Regions from separate parts of the Homo sapiens genome. Here region 1 is linked to region 2. The links are contacts of gene promoters, found by promoter capture Hi-C in human tissues and cell types (Jung and others, 2019). All regions are on one chromosome and are shown on one strand. Each heading gives the region's core, a stretch centred on a gene start or on the middle of the fragment in contact. The rest is flanking DNA. Distances are from core to core; before and after follow the strand shown.

Region 1 (3,445 bases), core at 237-2,736, 1.2 Mb after region 2:
TCGTGTTACAGAAGTTTTTCTTTCTTTATGACTGAACTTGTCTGTGAATACTGACATGTATGAGAAAGCTTAAAGTTCTCCAGTTACTCATTCAACGAACACAGATCGTGTTACTATATTCACAGTGTTGATGCAGAAATAGGAAAGCCTTGTAATTAATTAACTCACTAATGAATCTGTAGTGGGAAATCTGTCCCTGTGGCCAGCATGTCCATGTCCTGGGAGCAGACAAAAGGGAGGCTCCTGAGTGGACGCAGGCCTCGCAGCTGGTGGACCCACGGCTTCAGCTGCTCTGCGGCATTCATCTTCCTGAACCTGTCTTTGCATTTTCCATTTCTGACCAACCCCGCCATCTGACGGATGTGTTATTTCTTCAGATCGAGTGTTTCCTTACATCAGGGCTTCCTGTCTGGGAGTCTTCCTGCCTTGTTAAACTGACTTTTCCTACCTGTGCCATAAGTCCTTACAGGCCAATGTTATGTTTGAGGAGGATTCTTTTTCCTTTATTTCCAAGAACCTCCCTGCCGCCCCTTGTGCCGTTGTCACCTGGTGTGACCACATTAGTGATATCCCAAACCTGGGCAGGGGGACCGGCAGGGAGCGTGTTGTGAGTCTTCAGAAAGTGTATATAAAATTCTGTGTTCTGGGCTTTTTGTTTTTTCCCTAGGAAGAAAGAAATTGTCTAGTTTTCTTCAGATTTCCAAAAAGATCTGTGACCCTAACCTTGGACTCTGGTGACAATAGGTGTGAGCTTGCATAGGTGACTTCACATCTCCTTGCCTCAGTTTCTCATCTGTAGCATGAAGATTCAATGGATAAACACAGGGAGACACCTGCAACCTTGCCTGATCCATAGTGAGCACTCAGTAACTGGGGCTAGGACTGTGATGTACCACTTGTGACAGCATCACTTCTTAGTGAGGAGGACATATTCTTACAAAGTGCGAGCTATAGTTGCTTGCTTTGCTCCTAGATAAAATAAGAACCAGTAGGTGGTTCTTATTTTAATAGATGTCAGTGATGATTCTGTCCAATTCTGAGACCAAGATGGAGGGTTTTAATACCATCCCTGTTAGATAGAAATTGTTTTGTTTTGTTTCATAAATCCCAGAAGGCTTGCTCTATAAGAAGCACCATCTGCTTTTTAAATCAACTTTAAACAATTTAATTTGGGGCTTAATTTAATTCTTTCCAAATCCTTATGCACCTAATCTCATTCTTGTCACTTTTGATTTTAGTGTAGATGTTGATACAATTTGAACAACACACACACACACGAAGATATTTAGGATAAGGGATTTAAGGAATTTTGAATATGAAGGTTAAAAATGGGTAACTGTTTCTCTGACACCAAATGCATGGATTTTCCATGCTATGTACTTCTCCAGTCTTCTGTGAACACCAACTGAGTTTCCAATGATGCAACTCCATTCTGACACCACCCAGAGTTAGCACAGACCCCACAGGTTAAGGGCTCAGTTTCCAAGACTGCCCCACTTCAGATGTCAACCTCAAGTTGTGGATCCGGAGGGTACCCACAGTTCTACCTGACTCGGCTACAAATTGGGGGTTCCTACAACACCCTACTCAGGTTTGATAATGTGCCATAGCGGCTCATAGGACTCAGGAAAGCACTTTACTCATGTTTACTGTAAAGGATATTATAAAGAATATGGATGAACAGCCAGATTCAGAGGTACAGAGGGCAAGGCCTGGAAGGTTCCCAAGCACAGGAGCTTCTGTCCTTGTGGAGGTGGAGTGCACCACCCTCCTGGCACATGATATGTTTATCACCCCAGAAGCTCAACAAATCTTGCTCAAGAGTTTTTACAGAGCTTAATCTCTGGCCCCTTCCTTCTTCTTTACCAAAAGTTGGTGGGTGGGGCTGGAGGTTCTATCCTTCTTATCACTTGGTCTTTCTGGTGTTCAGTCCCATCTTGAGGCCATCCTGGGCCTCATTTGCATAAGTTCAGGTGTGGTCAAAAGAGTCTCATTTTGAATAACAAAAACATTTCTATCAGTCAGGAAATGTCAAGGGTTTTAGGAGCTCTGTGCTGGGAACCATGAATAAAGACCAATATTTCTTATTATGCCACACTAACATATAAAGCTCTTCTGGTAACAGTTGGGATTTTTGATTCTCCAGATGGCTTTGTATCTTAAAGGGTGCAAGATTTAGCCACTACCCAGAGATTTCTTCTCTGACAAAAGCTTAAATAAGTGTCTTACTTCATGAAGGCAGCAATGGAAACTGAGGTCAGAAGTTATAATATTAATTATAACATAGTAAGCCAATACTCTTCCAATCACAAAATCTCAGTTAATGTATGGCTGAGTTATTCATAACAGTGTATCTTGGCTGGCTGCCATCACAATGGGCCAGAATGGTTTTGTGCAGGGCAGTGTGTTCAACGTCAGGACCCTGTGGCATAAAGTCCAGTACCCTACCTGTCTCCCAGATGGTCACACAAGTCCAATTAGGGAGTCCAGGAGCCAGCAGAGGCTATAGTGCTGCAGGAGAGGAGTGGGGAGACGGTCCTGGGTGGCGGGTGACTTGGATACAGGCAGGAAGGCCGAGGTTTTTAGGGGTAGTGGGGGATGAGATGGAGGGGAGGGTGGGTGCCAGATGTGGGGGAGGCCTAGACCCCATGTACTGATGCTGAGGGTTGGGGGTGTAGGGCCAACTGAGGACTCTGAGGTTAAGGGGGAGAAAGAGCATCCCTATTCCCTGCTGGCCTTGTTGCCTGTCAAACAGAACTCATCAAAACAAAGAAGTTTAAGAATGACATTGTGGAGAAAGAAGAATGACATGATAACTTGAACCTGGGTTTTTTGGAAGCCCCCGAATGGCAGGAGCTGGAAAAAATGAGCACTTGACTGTTGGGATGCTTGTGGAGAAGAGAGCATGGTGTTAGACAGACTCCAATTTTCATTTCAGTCTTGCTACCCACCAGCTGTGGGACCTTGGGGAATGCATGCAGTCTCTCTGCTTTTCAGGTTCTGCATCTGTAAAACCATATTTCAGCGATTACACATACCAAATGCTGTGGCAAGTGCACGGAACCCTGCCCAGGGTCTGACACCGAGTGTTTCCCCATAAGTGTGGGCTCCTTCTCTCCTGTGTTTGGCTGACCCAGCAGTTTAGGGAGCCAACTTGGCAAGACCATGGGCCAGCATGGCAAACCAGTGACCAACCAGCATTTGAGGGGGGAGGAGCATCTTGGAGAGCTTCTCATTTTAAATTGTCTTCAATCCCAAGTGCCAGACAAACTGCTCTACCCAAGGAGCACCTGCTCCACACCAGCCAACTGACCCACAACCAGCCAATCAAACAGCCAACCAATCAACCAACCAGCCAACTGACTAGCCAACCAAGCAACCAATCAACCAACCAATTAACCAACCAACTGTCTAACCAACCAACCAATTAGCCAACCAGCCAACC
Region 2 (3,503 bases), core at 509-3,008:
AATTTAGGTTTAGAAACCACCAGCATATATGGGGTACCTGGAACTGTGAGACTAAACAAAATCTCTTGGGGAGATTCTTAACAGAATCAAAGTCAGGAATTTTGGTCTTTATTCCTTTTTCTATCAGACTTCCCAGGAAAGTGTATTTTCTTTTTTTGGGTAGTCTGGTGATTTCTCTTAAAAATAAAACAAACTGAGAATGTCAGTGATGGGGGAGATAATATCTGTTCTTTTAAGCAGATTCTAAATGTATTAGTACCATCAGTAACTAAATAAAACTTTATCTTAAAACCTCTATTACACATTGTAGTTCATATTGTATGGGCTCACTCAAGAGTTTATAGAAAGTATTTTTGGATCAGGTAAATGAAATCATCCAACAGCAGTGCCGTTAAAATCTAAACTACAAAGCCCTGTGTGATCTGGCCACTGCCTACATCTCCAACTTCATCTCATAACACTCGCCCCCCCAACCCCAACTTATTGGTCTTTCAAACCACTCCTAGGGCACGTGAAGCTCTTTCCTGCCTCTGCATAGGCGGTTTCCGCTCATTTCTCTTCAGATCTGAGCTGATTATCAGCCCAGAGAGGCCTTCCCAGAACAGCCTATCAAGAAGAGCAACCTCCTTCCCTTTTTGCTATTATCTGGTTTTCTTTTTCCTTTTTTCTTTTCTTTTCTTTTTGAGACGGAGTTTCGCTCTTGTTGCCCAGGCCGGAGTGCAATGCTGCGATCTCGGCTCACCGCAACCTCCGCCTCCCAGGTTCAAGCGATTCTCCTGCCTCAGCCTCCCGAGTACTGAGATTACAGGCATGCGCCACCATGCCCGGCTAATTCTGTATTTTTAGTAGAGCCGGGGTTTCACCATGTTGGTCCGGCTGGTCTCGAACTCCCGACCTCAGGTGATCCGCCCGCCTCGGCTTCCCAGAGTGCTGGGATTACATGCGTGAGACACCGCGCCCGGCCTGCTACCTGGTTTTCATTTCCTTTACTACACTTACACAAGGTCTACTTTATTTGCCTGTTTGCCTCCTTGCTTTATTACTAATAGATCCTCGAGGGTAGTGATTTTGTCTGTCTTCTCTCCTGCAGCCCCGTCACGTAAAGGTGCTGGTCAAAGGAAGGCGGCAATCACCGACCGGACACCAGGGCAAATCAGGGCAGCCCAGTGATTCGAGATGCCGGCTGGGGAATCGGACCCATGTGGGTCTTTTCTCAGCTTCCCCGCTTACTGTGACTTTCATAAGTAACGGAACCCCCTCAACCCGTTTCCTTAAGTGTAAAAAGGCACTAGACACAGCAAGAAGCGGTTCCGGCAGCGCGGAAACCGAAGCACACGCTGGGTGTCACGACAACACGTGGAAGCCGCATTCCGTGCCGGGGCCCTGGCCCTAGCCCCAGCCCCGGCCCCCGGCCCGCCATGTGGCGCGGCTGACCGCGGCCGTGCGCCCACCTGTCTCCCTCTGCGTCTTCACGCTGATGTACTGGCGCAGCTTCTTCACCGCTCGGTCCCGGATGCCCTTCTCGCTGGACGCCAGCCGCTGGGCAAATTGGATCTCGGCCGGCTGCATGGCGGGGGCCATCGCGCCCGCTGGAGCATCCCCGGCCGCGCAACCCGCGGTGCCGCTGCAGCCAGCCGAGCGCTGCGGAGCAGCCAGCCACCGTCCGCCCGGGCCGCGACTGCACAGAAGGCGGCGGCGGCGGCGCGCGGGCTGATGGCGTCACAAAGGCGCCGCGGCTCGCAGCGCGCTCTGGGAGTGAGCGCGGCAGTGGCCCTGGCAGCTGGCGGAGCGGCCCAGCCCGTGTGCACGTGGCGCCGGCGCTGCCTTTCGGTTGCCAAAATTCAGGCTGTAGACGGCGAGGTTAGCCAGGGTTAGGACTTGACCAGGAAGAGACGGAAGGCTGTTTGTAAACGGTCTAGGATTTTTTGTTTGTTTTTGAGACAGGGTCTCCCTCTGTCGCCCAGGCTGGAATGCAGTGGCGCGATCTTGGCGGTGATCCTGGCTCACTGCAGCCTCGACCTCCCAGACTCGATCGATCCTCCCATCTCGACCGCCCAAGTAGCTGAGACTACAGGCGCGCGCCATCACGCCCCACTATTTGTTATTTTTTTGTAGAGACGGTGTCTCGCTATGTTGCCCAAGCTGGTCTCAAACTCCTGGGCTCAAGCAATCCTCCCGCGGCGGCCTCCCTGATCGCTGGGATTACAGGCTTGAGCCGCCGCGCCTGGCCACGGTCCAGGATCTTTAATCCCATTTAGCACACCTCGTTGAGCCAGCAGCTTACCTGCGATCTCCGTGGCGTGGAGTTTTTAACTGTGGAGCCCCCGGGCCCCCGGGTGGAGTTGAGACTGGAAGGAAAGGCCGGCACTGGGGCCTGTTGAGCGGGTGGAGGGCTCGCCTTCCTCCAGTGCCTGCAGAGGCTTGGGCAGATCGGTGCGCCCCTACCCCGGAGCCCTGGTGCCAGTGCAAGGGCGCCCGCGCAGGCGTCCCGAGGCCTGGCGAGCACGCGCGCTTCCAGGGGAGTTGGGCAGGGCGGGCTGCTTGCTAATTCCAGAGAGGGAAGAAATCTTAGCTTTGGGTTCATCTAAAACCCGAGGCCATCCTATATTTTGCGGACTCAGCGGGCGTGCTGGGGCAAGTTAATGGACTAGGTCACTCCACACGTAGCGGGGGTTATCTCAGTTGCTCCGCTCAGTTGTCTAGGCGACCTCCCGAGGTGCCTGTTGACACAAAAATTCAACCCTTAACGTAAAAGCGCCTGAATCCGAGCGAGGGAAGGCGCGCGGAGGCGAGGTTTCCAGCAAAGACTGCCCATTTGAACGCAGTCCCCCTTAGTGTAGCATTCCTCGCCAAACAGGAAAGGACCCATCCGATTTATTTTACTTGACACTTACATCAGGGGCTGACTTTCCTTCTGCTTTGCAGATAACAAGTTTAAAACCCCGGCTAAGCCAGAAGAGCCAAAGAGGGACCTCGCCAAGGCCACTCCTCGCTCTCTAGGCCGAGAATACTGCGCAAATTCTGGGAGGTTTGGGCCTGGCGGCTCTCCGTTCCCGACCCCCGGCGTGGATTCGTTCCCGCGCTTTCTGGCGTGAGGGGTCAGAGGGCGCGCCGACGCTCAGGCGAACGGAGCGGAGGCGGCAGCGGCCATGGGCGAAGCGGGCGCCGCTGAGGAGGCCTGCCGGGTTAGTGAGGAAGCCCTGGCCGACGCCAGCGTGTTTGAACCGTCGCCATTCGCTCCCCTCAGGGCCTCGCCCCGTGCGCTCGGAGACGGCTCGCTGTCGCGTGCTTGGGGGAAGCCTGGAGACTTCCTCCCCTAACGGCGTGGGCTGGGCCGGAGCGGGGTGGAGACCTGGGGCGGGAGGCGACTTCGCCTCCAAACCCACGCGGGGACCCGGTCTGTGAGGCTGCGCGTGGTGGGGGCACTCAGTGGCGCCAAAGCGGGCATGGGAGCGTGGGATGGATGGTCACTCTCTTCTCTGCTCCGTGGAAGCCCAGTTCCC

Evidence for each region. The method cuts DNA at HindIII sites, captures the fragments that hold promoters and counts their contacts. A contact is called where the count stands out against the background at its distance.
Region 1: a fragment that was not itself captured here is called in contact with the fragment with the promoter of HSF2BP in region 2 in 1 of the 25 tissues and cell types used here (lymphoblastoid cells).

Annotation. Positions count from the first base shown.
Region 1 is chr21:42,489,287-42,492,731 of GRCh38, reverse strand. The region is part of intron 3 of RSPH1 (radial spoke head component 1); the gene reads left to right. Among named protein-coding and RNA genes, the nearest start is that of RSPH1, 5.2 kb to the left of the region's middle. RefSeq lists an enhancer at 1-372. The HindIII fragment of the contact is 4,264 bases long and covers 1-3,445 here.
Region 2 is chr21:43,657,743-43,661,245 of GRCh38, reverse strand. HSF2BP (heat shock transcription factor 2 binding protein) reads left to right here and starts at 1,758. Exons shown (of 9, transcript NM_007031.2): 1 at 1,758-1,860; 2 at 2,926-3,185. The coding sequence starts at 3,150. It overlaps RRP1B (ribosomal RNA processing 1B), which reads right to left and starts at 1,686. Exons shown (of 16, transcript NM_015056.3): 1 at 1,452-1,686. The coding sequence starts at 1,581. RefSeq lists an enhancer at 694-743 and a silencer at 1,464-1,653. The HindIII fragment of the contact is 9,655 bases long and covers 1-3,503 here.